Regions from separate parts of the Homo sapiens genome. Here all the other regions are linked to region 1. Evidence: promoter capture Hi-C in 16 types of primary human blood cells and fetal thymus (Javierre and others, 2016). All regions are on one chromosome and are shown on one strand. The core of a region is centred on a gene start or on the middle of the fragment in contact, and the rest is flanking DNA. Distances in the headings are between cores, read along the strand shown.

Region 1 (3,086 bases), core at 1-2,500:
CCTGAACTCAGGCAATCCGCCCACCTCGGCCTCCTAAAGGATAGGATTACAGGCGTGAGCCACCGCGCCCGGCCCCTTCTCTTTTTTAAAACCAATTTCACTAACATTTACTTAAAAATGATTTTCTGCTTGGCAGAAGTGACTTAAGGCATGTGGGGGAGACACTGCGGGTCTGTCTCAGATTCCTTTAGACACCAATGCTCCACAGTTTTACGACTAGGTAATAGTCCGATAATCACCCATGAGTTCCTGGACTCCGGTTTGTTGTGGGATTGGAAATAAACGAGAAAGGCTGCGTTCATCATCATGGCCTTAATTTCTTCTCCCAACTTCCGGTCGTGCAGGTGTCTTGGGCAGGTGATCCCGAGGCCACTCTGCCGTGTTCTGTGAATCTTGGCGGAAGGGAGGCGAGCTGTAAATAAAAGCGTGACCATTAGAATCGCCGCTGTGTAGTATTAACCTGTTGAGCGCGGGGCTTCCCGGGGCTGGAGCTGCACCGCGGGCTCTGCTGTCTGGGACTCTCCTCCAGCGCGGACCCGACAGGACGCCAGGGACCAGGCCGGTCCGGCCGGGACAGCGGGGCCTCGGGCAGCGACGGGGCCGGGCCTCCCCCCAGCACGTCCCCAGCTCGGGCACTGAGGCCTTGCGGAGACCCCAGGACTCGCCGCGGAGGCCACCAGTGCGCGTCTCGCGTGGCGCTACGGCCTCGGGAATTCCGTCACGGCATAGCCGGGTCCAGCGCGGTGTAGACCGGGGCCCCGCGCCTTGCTCGGCCAGAGCGGCTCAGGTACTACTCCAGGTCCGGCCGCACTCGCGGCCACTGCGAACAGCCGGGACACCCAATCCCACTCCGCCCAGGGCCAAGAAGCCCGAGGAGGCCGCAGAACCGCTCCCGCTCCCACTCGCGGCCCCAAGGCCCCACCCCCCCCTCCGCCGCGCGCATGCGCCGCCCCCGAGCAGCCGCATGTGGCGACGGGAGGGGCCTGCCAGCTCCCCTCCTCCCCGGGACCGGCTCACTCCGGCCCCGCCGAGGGGGGAGCTGGTTTCCCCTCGTCCTCGGGGCCCCCTCGTTGCAGAGCGGCGGCCACGGAACCGCAAGGGCCAGAGCGGGCTGCCGGCGCCAGCTACCCCGGAGCCGTGGCTGGCGGCAGAGGCGCGGGGCGTCACTGGAGGCCGGGCGGCTCCTCGGCGCTCCCCCTCGGTGGCCGGGGCGGGATGGTGCGTCCCGCAGGGCGCGCGCGGCTCCCGCGCTTCGGGCGCTCGGCGCGGGCGCGGGCGGGGGCGCGGAGGGCGGGGGAGCGGACCCCGATTCGCAGGACCGGGCCCGGGCTGCGCGGGCAGGGCCGTTGGCGGGGCGAGTGGGGGCGCCGGGCGCCGCGGGGGCCGGGGGCGGGGGGTGGGCGGGGCCGGGCGCCGCCGCGGAGCCTCCCGGGCCGCCGCGATCATGTCGGACCAGGCGCCCAAAGTTCCTGAGGAGATGTTCAGGGAGGTCAAGTATTACGCGGTGGGCGACATCGACCCGCAGGTACCGCGCCCGCCCCTGCCGCGGCCTCCTCCCCCGTCCGCGTCCCCGTCCGTCCCCGTCCCCGTCCCCGTCCCCGCTCCTGCCGCGGGCGCGCGCCGGGCGCAGAGCGTCGGGTCCGCCGAGGCCGCTGGCCTGACTGCGCTGAGGGCAGGGGCGACCGCGGGGTGGGCGCGGGAGGCCCGGGCCCGGGGGAGTGCGGGAGGGAAGGCGGCTGGGGCTCTGTACCTCGGCCCCTAGTGCGCGCCCTGAGCCCCCGGCCTGCGGCCCTGGGGTCGCCGCCCCCGACCCACCGGGCCGCCTCGTTCTCTGCTCCTTTGCTGAGCGGGACGGGCGCGGGGTCGCGTCTCCCCATTCCCCGCGCCGGGCGTCTCGGCTCCCGGGAGAGCAGCTCCGAGGGCGGACGAGGGGCGCCGGGATCCCCAGCCGGGGCAGCTCGCGCGGGGACCCCAGCCTCGCTCGGCCGGCGGGGGTCGTGGCCGTGCACCGGCTTGGCCGCCTCCGCCACCCGGGCAGCTGCCGTCCTGTGCGGGGCTGAGGAGCGCTCCCTTCCAGCCTGTGTCCCTGCACGTGGGGGCTGGCATTCGTCTTCCTTGATTTTCCCACTTGGACGATTAATTTTACGGTACCCTGGTAACACCATCACATTACACATTTAATTTTGTGTAGTTTGGGCTCACGCCAAAGGATATTGTGGGTTTTCCTTAGTATTCCTATAATAATATATCTGTTTGATGTCACACAGTTATCAGTCCGTGGTAGGAATGCATCTTAGTTGAATATCCTCTTCAGGTTAATCTTCAAAATATTTCCTTCTTAAAAGTTTAGCTGTACAGTTGTGTTGCCTTGGGTGTGACATCAGTGGCCCCCACCTTGGAGGATGGGGATCCCCAGTGATCAGAGTTAGGCCTGGAAGGGCGGAGACTCATATTTCGCAGATGAACTTGGATGGTGTAGAAGGAATTGTAGAAGGCTGAGTGATCTTGGCCTTCTTGAGGTTCGTCCTTGTAACAACTTTTTGGACCCTTTTTGCCCTGTAACTTTAGGGTAAAGAGACTTCAAGGCCGGGTTTACCCCTGTAATCCCAGCACTTTGGGAGGCCAAGGCGGGTGGATCACCTGAGGTCATGAGTTCGAGACCAGCCTGGCCAACATGGTGAAGCCTCATCTCTACTAAAAATACAAAAATTAGCCGGGCGTGGTGGCGGGCGCCTGTGGTCTCAGCTACTCGGGAGGCTGAGGCAGGAGAATTGCTGGAACCTGGGAGGTGGAAGTTGCAGTGAGCCGAGATCGCGCCACTGCACTCCAGCCTGGGCAACAACAGCTAGACTCCGTCTCAAAAAAAAAAAAAAAGCCTTCTATCTTTGAATTTACAGAGTAAAACAGTTGCTGAACACGGAGCGATGAAGATGAGTGCCTGTAACAGTGTTAGCTTTTTCCAGTATTGATGATTCCCCCGCCCCTCTTTTTTTTGTTTGTTTTTTTGTTTTTGTTTTTTGCTATCCACCATTTTTCTCTTCCCCCTCCTTCCTAGCCTTCGTGTTTCATTTTAGGACTTTGGCTCT
Region 2 (3,335 bases), core at 300-2,799, 1.8 Mb before region 1:
GAATTTCTGCCTACAAATTTTAATGCAATGGAGATGTTAATTCAATGAACTGGCAATGTTGGTGTTTTTATTTTAGCTTACCCCAAGCACTTTCTTTTTGTCCAGCTTTAACAGCTTGAGCATCTTATAGTTTTAATTTTTTCATCTTGTATAGACCACATTAAGTATATTTGTGTATAAAATAGACTGCATAGCATATTAATATTAAAAAACATTTCACTGTTTTACTATAGACCTTAACAAAGCTTTTCACAAAGCCGTTTTCTCTGACGTGAGACCAAAGCTTTTTCGTGTATGCTCTTAATGATTACTTGGGAGCAAAGGGAGAAATGTTTGACACTCTCTAGAGATGCTTATTTGTAGTTTTTTCATGGCTTAAAATAAAATAATTAATACCTGCTTTTATTTTCTGTTCTTTATTAGTACTTCTACCGATCTTCCCCTGATGACTGTGTATATGTTTGGTGCAATCTTGATGCCATGCTGAGCAAACCTTATTTTAATGTTACTGAGAGACCCTTTTTGTTAAGTGAAAACAATAGCTTGATATTTATTTTAAATGTTCTGTGAATGTAGAAGTTTTCCCAGGCTTCCTAATGGGTAGAGACATAGTGTATGAAGTGGTTTTTACATCCCTTACAGGAGGGCAAGATGTCCAGGCAAAACCTTGTTTAAATGTTCATCACCATAGAAACATGACAGCTTCTCCATAGAGCTTTTGTAAGTACATTGTAATTTTCACTTCATTGATGTGAATTAAATGTATAATTGACCAGCACAAAAATTCCAAGAAGCAATTATATCATAACCATTTGAGTGTAGTAGACTATCCATTTAGTTCCCATTTAAATCTAAAAGAAATCTGTGTGTCTACAAGTGTTTAGTCTTTACTAATCTATTTCATCGAATTTAACCTTTTATAATATTGAGGTTGTTGTAATTTCAAAAAATGCTGGTATGAAATAACGTGATTAATTCTATAGCTTACTCAAAACAACTCATGTTTCATTGGCAGAAAAGTACTTAATTTCAGTGGTGTTTCTAATATACTGACTGCTTATTATACTGCAATTTTAATCAGAAGGAAGGAGTTTCGCTAAAGTAATTTAAACTTAACGGGTTTTTTTGTGGGGGATGGCAGGATAAGTGTTCATACTGGGAAATAAAAATATTGTGAAGTTCATGAAATCCTGGTGATATATGACATAATCTAAGCATTCAAAACTAGGTGAAGGAAGTACAGTTATTGATTAATAAATAGAAGTTCTTATAGTCCTGTGATCTTGTATTCAGGAGACTTTTTTCACTAGAGGAACAATGAAGACCTTCTTCCTTGTTTACAGTGTTTTGCCACTTTGTTGTTTGAAGCGCATTTTAATAAGTTATTCTGACATCTGGTACATCTTTTAGCTCAGTATATGCAAGAATGGAGTTGATAGGAAGCTTCCCCTCGGGGCTTTCTAGCTCCTGATTCTGACCCTTAATGGAAAAATGAGCAGTCGGCATATTTTTTGCTTATATGCTGTGCTGCTGGTGATTAATGGTGGTGATAAAAGTGCTCACAATGCTTTTCATTACTTTGTAGTCAGAATGGCATCCAAAAGTCTAACAATCTCACACATGGCATGCCATAAAGGCTGTGTTCTTGAAGCTTGGTAATATTTTTATGATCTCAAGAAAGATAGTGATAACAGCTTATAGATTTTGAGTACTTGTATATTTACTAGTGGAAGCTGAATTAACAAATGAAATTTCTGACTATAGTCTCATCATCTCTCTTCTCTCTAGCTCAAAGTTTTTGAAGGTAAAAAATTTGCCACCTTGCATTTAATGAACATATTTATCTTTTTAAAAGGTTTATGTAAAGCTCACGCATGTGGTATTTAATTGATTTTAAGTTGGACAGGTTTTGTCTCATTTAATCACAGAAAGAAAATAAAATTAACAAAAGGGAAAACTTAACTATCCTAGCCTCCCAGTGGATTAAGTCAGAATAACAGCTCTTTCTTACTATATCAGTTATCTTAATATTTCATAGGACAAGCATAATCATATTAAATAATTTTGATGGCTTGTACCGTGGCAGCCTTTTCTATTAGTATTGTTGATTTACTCTTGTAATGTAGATCGATAACTAGAAATGAGCAGATTTCTTTTTGTGAGTTATTTACTGACTTTCAAAAGAAATATTGACTAATTTGAAATAACTTTTTGAACAATTTATATGATTGACTACAGAGAGTTCTTTTGGCTAAATGTTTCTGAATGGACTGCTTAAACATGTGAGTATGTATTTCAGACAGTTCTTGTTATTATTTGTGTACCTATAATAGAAAAATCATCGTCTTGGATGGGTATGGTGGCAGTAGGAAAAGAAGGGATGAATTTGAGTTGTAATTACACAGTAGAATCAGAAGCACTTGGTGTTTGACTGGACCGAGGCTCAGGGTGTATGGTGGGGGTAGGGTATGGGGTTCAGCAGGAAAGGTAGGTGACAAGGGTGTTTCCAAAGTATCTGGCATAAACAACAAAGTGGGTAATGATGTCATGTTTTCAGGTATGTGATATTGAAGGAGGAGCAGAGATAGAGAATAAAATGATGAGTTTGGTCTTAGAATTAAGTTTAAGGTACTGGTGAGATGTCTAATGAAAGACGGCAGTTGGTGTATATGGTTCTTGGCCACAGCAGTAAGATTTGGACTAAAGATATAAACTTCAGAGTTGTTGGCTATTGGAAGAGGCAAGATCACTTAGGTAAAAACTGAGCAGTATATCTGTGAACCGTCTTCATCAGAATCAACTGAGTCACCACTTTGTGGTTGATGCTCAGGAACTGGCAGGCCCCTTGGTAATTATGATGCAGGTTGACATTTGAGAAGCACTGATATGACATGTGAGAAGATGAACATCTGAGATTGGGCCACAGGAGAAAAGGGATTCAAGGTATTTTCTTTTATAGAACGAAAGAATTAGAAATGGAAACAGTAGCTAAGGTGTAGAGGAGGGAAGGTGAGGGACTCACAGACCCCACTCAGCTGTGTCCTACTGAGGTAGAGGAAAGTCAATTGTAGTTGGAAGGAAGTAGAGGATGAGATTATAGATAAAAAAGAAAGGAAAACATTTTAAAAAATGTTGTGAAAGGCCAGGCGTGGTGACTGATGCCTGTAATCCCAGCACTTTGGGAGGCTGAGGTGGGCAGATCATGAGGTCAGGAGATCGAGACCATCCTGGTTAACACCGTGAAACCCCATCTCTACTAAAAATACAGAGATAATATTAGCTGGGCGTGGTGGCTGGCGCCTGTAGTCCCAACTACTCAGGAGGCTGAGGCGGGA
Region 3 (2,959 bases), core at 1-2,500, 1.9 Mb before region 1:
AGATTCATAAAAATCTAAACAACGGCCGGGCGCGGTGGCTCAGGCCTGTAATCCCAGCACTTTGGGAGGACGAGGTGGGCGGATCACCTGAGGTCAGGAGTTCAAGAACAGCTTGGCCAACGTGGTGAAACCCCGTCTCTACTAAAAATACAAAAATTAGCTGGGCGTGGTGGCGGGCGCCTGTAATCCCAGCTACTCGGGAGGCTGAGGCAGGAGAATCACTTGAACCCAAGAGGCAGAGGTTGTTGTGAGCAGAGATCGCCATTGCACTCCAGCCTGGGCGACAAGAGTGAAACTCTGTCTCAAAAAAAAAAAAAACAAAAACAAAAACTAAATGACATTTGAAAGCAATTTGTAGATTTTCACACTTCCTAAGAATTCTCAAAGATGCCAAAAACAAAAATCGCAGCCACTAGCAATTTAAATGACTTCCTCGTAGCCAAATAAATCCTAAGGTAAAATTATAAACATTCCCTTAAATTCAAATTTTATAACAAAAAGAAAGATAATAGGGAACGGAGGGTGAATTATTGTGTTTGATATATTTGGCGGTGAAAAATACATATATTACGTGCTGTTTAGGGTCCACTGAGAGTCATAAAACTGACCCTAGTGACCGAGCTACCGGAAGGACTTGGCAAGGGTCTAGCGAGCTCGGTTATCTGCGTTTTCCAGGTGGGGCAGCCCAAGACCCTTCTCAGACCCAGAGAAGCTGGGTTTCCGCCCAAAGCCCGGCCCCAAACCACCGATTTCCGACCTTTCAACCTACTTTGGCAGAGCAAGAGTTTCCGCGGGAGACTCCCTGCTTCCCTCTGCCCAGGTCCCCTGAGGCCGAGTGCGGTACTGAGTGCTGAGTAAGGGGTGCCGAGTGCCAAGCACTGAGTAACTGGGGGAGGGGAACCATGCAGCTGTCATAAATAATTAGCTCCTGTGAGGAACAGGAACTCCGAGACTGCGGCCGGGCCAGGTGGGCAGAGGTCGCAGCGCCCTCGCCGCGTTCCCCGTCCCCATCCGACGCCAGGACAGCGCCTCCTTAACTGGGGTAGCCCCTGAGAGCGTGGGCGGAGCCCCGCCCCGCGACCTCAAGGCCCCGCCCCCTCAGCGCCTCCCGGCCCAGCAGCTCGGAAGACCGCGAGGCGCGCTTTTCTGACGCATCGGCGCCTTTCGTCTGACGTATGCCTGCACCGCCCCCTCCCCTCCCTGCCCCGCCCCCGCCCCGCCCCCGACTGCGCGGCGCCCGCCCTCCCTTAGTCAGAGCTGCTCGTCTGAGGCTGCTGAGGCGACGGCCGGTGTCGTGGTCGCGGTACCTGTTCCAACACGGCTCGCGGGCCCGTGCCGGCTCCGGTCCCCGGCGCGGCTGTCCGAGCCCCTGCGGCGGGCGGACGATGGTGTGGCGGAGCACGCGGACGCGGGCGGCGCGGCGGCGGGCATGAAGGAGGATGGAAGGGCAGGACGAGGTGTCGGCGCGGGAGCAGCACTTCCACAGCCAAGTGCGGGAGTCCACGGTGCGTGGGGACCGAGGCAGCCCTGACAGTCCCGCGTGCCCGCCCGGGCCCTCCGTCCCCGCCCCCGGGCCCCCGGTCCCCGGACCCCTCACCTCCGGGCCTCGCCTCGCGCCTCCCGCCCCGGCCTCTGCCGCTCTCCCTCCCCACCCCTCCTCTCCCCTCCCCTCCCCTTCCCTCCCCACCTCTCCTCTCCCCTCCCCTCCCCTTCGCTTCCTCTGCCTGCCCCCCCGCTCCGCTCTTGCCTCCCCTGCCCCCTCGCGCTCCCTCCGTTCGAGCCCCGACCCCGCCCCCGCCCCGCGGCCTCGGTGCTGCCCTTCCCTTCCCGCGGGGAGGGCTGCGGTGCGCGCCGCGCTCTGGGACCCCAGGGGCTTCCTCTCTGGGCGGGTGTGCGGCTCGCGCCTCGGGGTGTGGACGGCGGCCCCGCCAGTGCGCGCCCCCGCGCTCCGCCGCCAGGCCAGGTAGGCAGGTGGATGCGCAGGCGTCCCGGAGAGCCTGGGTGGGCCCGGCGGGTCCGGGAAGGGCCGGGCTGCGCGGAGCCCGCCCGCCTCTCGCGTTTGGACCCGGCCGGTTACCTTGTCCCGGTCAACACCTCCTGCCCTCCTGGCGCCTCACGTTTCCATCCCTCTTTCATCTCCCCCAGCCCCCACGTGGGTTGAGTTCGAAACCTTACCGTTTGGGATGAGAATATTGGTTATTTTTGGGAGTGAGGACCTCAGCAAAAGTCCATTTTGCTATGGAAGCAACTTCTTAGGGAAGCAGCTTCTTTTTTGGCCCATGTTCCATGTGTGCTGTTGGCAGGAGTCAGGAAGCGGACTTGACCTTGGAAAGTCTACTTTGATGTTTTTATCTTTTCATGATGCTCTAGAATGTATTGTAATTGGGTTTATCTGTGTTTTCATAACTGTTGTAAAATATGTCAATTTTTTATGTTTATATTTACGCCTCTCCTAAGTTGTCTACGATTCAGTCACACTTGGTTTGAGGTGAAAAAATTCTGCTTTAGAATTATCTAATTTGTGTACTCACTGATCTTGAAAATTGAGAATCACTTTGGAAGTCATACTTTGAATAAAGAGGACATATAAAGTCTGAGCTGGTGGAATTTGAGTTAGTGGAATTTGGTACACATTTAGTTGTAATTTTTATAATTGAAGCTAAAATACACAGAGATAAGTTCATGTAATCATACATGTACCCTTCAGATCATTTCATACTAAACACGCCTGTGTACTCCTGAATCCACCAGGAGTTTGAGACTGGTCAGCCTGGGCAACATAGTGAATCCCCATCTCTACCATTATAAAAAAATAAATAAATAAACACAATTTTACTAGGATCCCAGAGACTGATTCCTTTCCCTCTTCCAATTACTTTCTCCTCCACCAAGGGTAAACGTTGCCCTGGCTTCTAATATCATAGATTAGTTTTTGCTTAGTTTTGAACTTTATGTAAAT
Region 4 (2,987 bases), core at 363-2,862, 1.6 Mb before region 1:
TTACTCTATAATTTAAAGTCACGGGTATAACAAGCGAGCCTTTAAAAACTGTTTTCCGAATTAAAAAATGGAGCAAATTCATTCTTTGTTGTTGAATTCAATATACTTAGAAGTAATTTATCACTTTGGTAAAGAATAATGTCCTACTATGCCTTAATATCTGACACGATGGAGATATTCTTGCTATCTACACTGTGATCACCAGATACCAGACACTTCAAAAATGTTGCCAAAAGCTGTTAGGCATACTGATTGTATGAAAGGTGTTTGGGTAATGTGGACTCCTTTCAGACATTTGTGATTTTTCTGCCTTAATTGAAAGTTTTGACAGGTTTGTAAAAGCATAAATGTCAGGTTATTAGTAGAAACTCTAAAATAACCTGGGAAATAAATACATATACTGGTTTCAACCACTTTGGCTAAAGCTGAATGTCTCTAAAAATTGAATCAGCTGATGCTCTAATATGTTAAATATATCAAGAGACAGGATGTTTCCTGATCACATCCAGATAATTTTTTTAATTAATAGATTTATTTTCTTAATAAATTTTACAGATAAATTGAACAAATAATACAGAGAGCTCCCTCTCCTTGCAACAGTTTCCCCTATTTGCCATTTGTATGCTATATTTGTTAAAATTGATGTACAATAAGGTTGTTCATGTTTAATGTTGACTATGAAATTCTCCGCAAATAAAAGTATACCCCACAAGTACACAGGAGAGACCCCTTCTGCAGTTCTATTCATAGAGGCACAAGCAAAGGAACTATTGAGAGATAAGAGTCTCATGATAGCAGAAAAGTATTGATCCATGATCTTGGGAAAGCTGTCCACATCTAGGATGCTGTCTGCTTTTAGGGAGAAACTTTCCTGGTTAGCTTTACCTTAAGGTCTCCAACAAGTGTATAGATTGAAGAGTCTGGAGGGGCCCATTTCAGCTGTGAGATTGTAAACCCAAGGCTCAAGGTGCTGAAGTTTTGCTGCAGTGTAAGTGGCAGGGGCAGTCTTTCCCTGATGATGTTTCCAGAAGAGTCAGTTTCTAGGCTTTAGATCATGTAGGGTTTGTCCTCAGTGGACCATGGAAAGCTTTCTTTACCTGGTGAAAATAGACTTGGGCATAATGCATTAAAGCCTGGCAGCACTTAGTCATATCAGAGCTTAGGAGGAGAAGATGTGTGAGGTTTTATTATTAGGAGCATAGGCCTTCAGTGACTATTGCATAAGGGATCAACTTAACGTTTTGCACATGGAAGTGGATCTGTCATCAATCCGCAGTACTTTAGACCAAGGAAATCCAGTCAATTCAGTTAGCTTTGCCTGATGTGATTGTACCTATGATACCTTATCTCATTGTTTTACAACTTGTCTGATGAAACAAGTACCTCTATCACTAGCAATCTTTCCAGGTATGTCCCATGAGAGAAACATGTTTCCTAATAACCTTTTGTCTACTGTTACAGCACGAGACTTTTTGAATGGAAAAGCTTCTATACAATCAGAAAACATGCATTGAAAATGGCAATGGAATGAAATCCCTCTAAAAATGTTTCAGTGGCCTATAATGTAGCAGAAATGTACATGAAGTTTTGATTGCCTTCCCAGGATTGTAGATTTGACAAACCAAACATTGGACATAAACTATTTTAGCAATTTAGAACATGCCAATATTCTATTTGGATCATCTTACCTCTTCCATGATGGGCCTTGGAGTGTAGAGCTTTTAGTAATGGAAGCTTTAAGGATTCAGGAAGGACCAGGCATCTGTCCAGGCTCCATGAGTCCATCCTTAACATTAGATTTATATCTTCCTTTTGTTTTTCATTTCAAGTTTTAAAGCTTGTATATAAGATTACTTTATTCCTGCATCTTCTCAATTGTTTCTTCCTTGTATTTGCCCTTTTCCTACTTGGCGAGATTTGGCTTTCTGTTCAAGAATCTTTTTGCGGTCTATGTCCAGTTTTAGCCTAGTGATAACCACCTTGCTGGGGTGAATGCCTACATGGACAGTTGTGCCATTAGCCTTTTCCCACTGCACCCGTTCGATGTAGAGGACATATTTCTTCCTGTAAACCTGGACTACTCTGCCAATTGGCTAACCTTTATAGTGTCCTCGTACAACCTGAACTTCATCATCCTTTTGGATGGGCATGGATCACACGTTGTACTTCTGTCTCAGCTCTTTGGAAAGAGGGGAAGACATAGTCTTCCTGTAAATGTGGGAAGGTGCATTGAAATGCCTTTTGTGGTTCTTGTTTCGGTTGGAAGTCGCAAAGGGATTGAACTTCATTTTGGCGATTGCTGCTTCAGTGATAGCTGCAAAATGGAAGATTTATGTCTTCTTAAATATCAGTTTTGTTTCTCCAATTCACGTGCATAGCACTGTTTATTAGATGGGTTATCATAGGTAAATTTGACTTGGATCATGGAATTCATCTAAACTACATATCAAAACAATTTCAGTACTGGCTGACTTAGCTTGAAGATCTGGCAGAGTAGTTCCTTGGTATTCAATTAATTTTTATCCTAATTGGATTATCAGTTTCATAAGCCAGTCAGTGTGTTCATTAGAGTGCTGGTAATTCATACCCAGTCTAAACGATATGATCCTAAAGACATCAGAAACTTCGCATTCAAGAGTGCTTGTCAGGGTCCTTTCCATCCTTTTCATGAATCTCCTTGAAGGCATGATACTCTAGGATTTTACTTGCTTATAAACTTAACATAGCAAATAATCCTGTTTCTCTGTCTTTTGGATGCTGCAGGGGCCCTCTGTAGCATCCCAAAGTTAGTTTGAGGTAACAACAAAAAAAGACAATTTGAAATTTGATTTTGGGAAGGCTGTCAAATATGTCAAAGGCTTAAAATAATCAAAATAGGATCACAAGGCATTGTAAGATAATATTCATTTAGCCAAAGTGATAAAAGGGGTTAGAAAGCAAAAACCTTTCTTCTTTGATAGAGGGGAGACTCAGTTTTCCAATCAACA

The links. The method cuts DNA at HindIII sites, captures the fragments that hold promoters and counts their contacts. A CHiCAGO score of 5 or more calls a contact.
Region 2: a fragment that was not itself captured here is called in contact with the fragment with the promoter of PAXIP1 in region 1 in 1 of 17 cell types (total B cells); the score reaches 5.1 in total B cells.
Region 3: the fragment with the promoter of LMBR1 here is called in contact with the fragment with the promoter of PAXIP1 in region 1 in 1 of 17 cell types (neutrophils); the score reaches 5.8 in neutrophils.
Region 4: a contact is called between a fragment that was not itself captured here and the fragment with the promoter of PAXIP1 in region 1, in 1 of 17 cell types (monocytes). The highest score is 7.4, in monocytes.

Annotation. Positions count from the first base shown.
Region 1 is chr7:155,001,288-155,004,373 of GRCh38, reverse strand. It overlaps PAXIP1 (PAX interacting protein 1), which reads left to right and starts at 1,250. Exons shown (of 21, transcript NM_007349.4): 1 at 1,250-1,525. The coding sequence starts at 1,445. PAXIP1-DT (PAXIP1 divergent transcript) reads right to left here and starts at 941. Exons shown (of 1, transcript NR_028090.1): 1 at 1-941. RefSeq lists an enhancer at 1-355 and silencers at 600-679, 700-1,389, 1,420-1,789, 1,960-2,109. The HindIII fragment of the contact is 20,481 bases long and covers 1-3,086 here.
Region 2 is chr7:156,777,040-156,780,374 of GRCh38, reverse strand. The region is part of intron 5 of LMBR1 (limb development membrane protein 1); the gene reads left to right. Among named protein-coding and RNA genes, the nearest start is that of LMBR1, 110 kb to the left of the region's middle. The HindIII fragment of the contact is 208 bases long and covers 1,446-1,653 here.
Region 3 is chr7:156,891,474-156,894,432 of GRCh38, reverse strand. It overlaps LMBR1 (limb development membrane protein 1), which reads left to right and starts at 1,250. Exons shown (of 17, transcript NM_022458.4): 1 at 1,250-1,505. The coding sequence starts at 1,440. LOC102723795 (a long non-coding RNA gene) reads right to left here and starts at 1,035. Exons shown (of 4, transcript XR_928253.3): 1 at 770-1,035. RefSeq lists silencers at 1,029-1,608, 1,659-2,158. The HindIII fragment of the contact is 17,725 bases long and covers 1-2,959 here.
Region 4 is chr7:156,632,656-156,635,642 of GRCh38, reverse strand. The region is part of intron 1 of RNF32-DT (RNF32 divergent transcript); the gene reads left to right. It also overlaps the pseudogene RPL26P23. Among named protein-coding and RNA genes, the nearest start is that of RNF32-DT, 6.4 kb to the left of the region's middle. The HindIII fragment of the contact is 249 bases long and covers 1,488-1,736 here.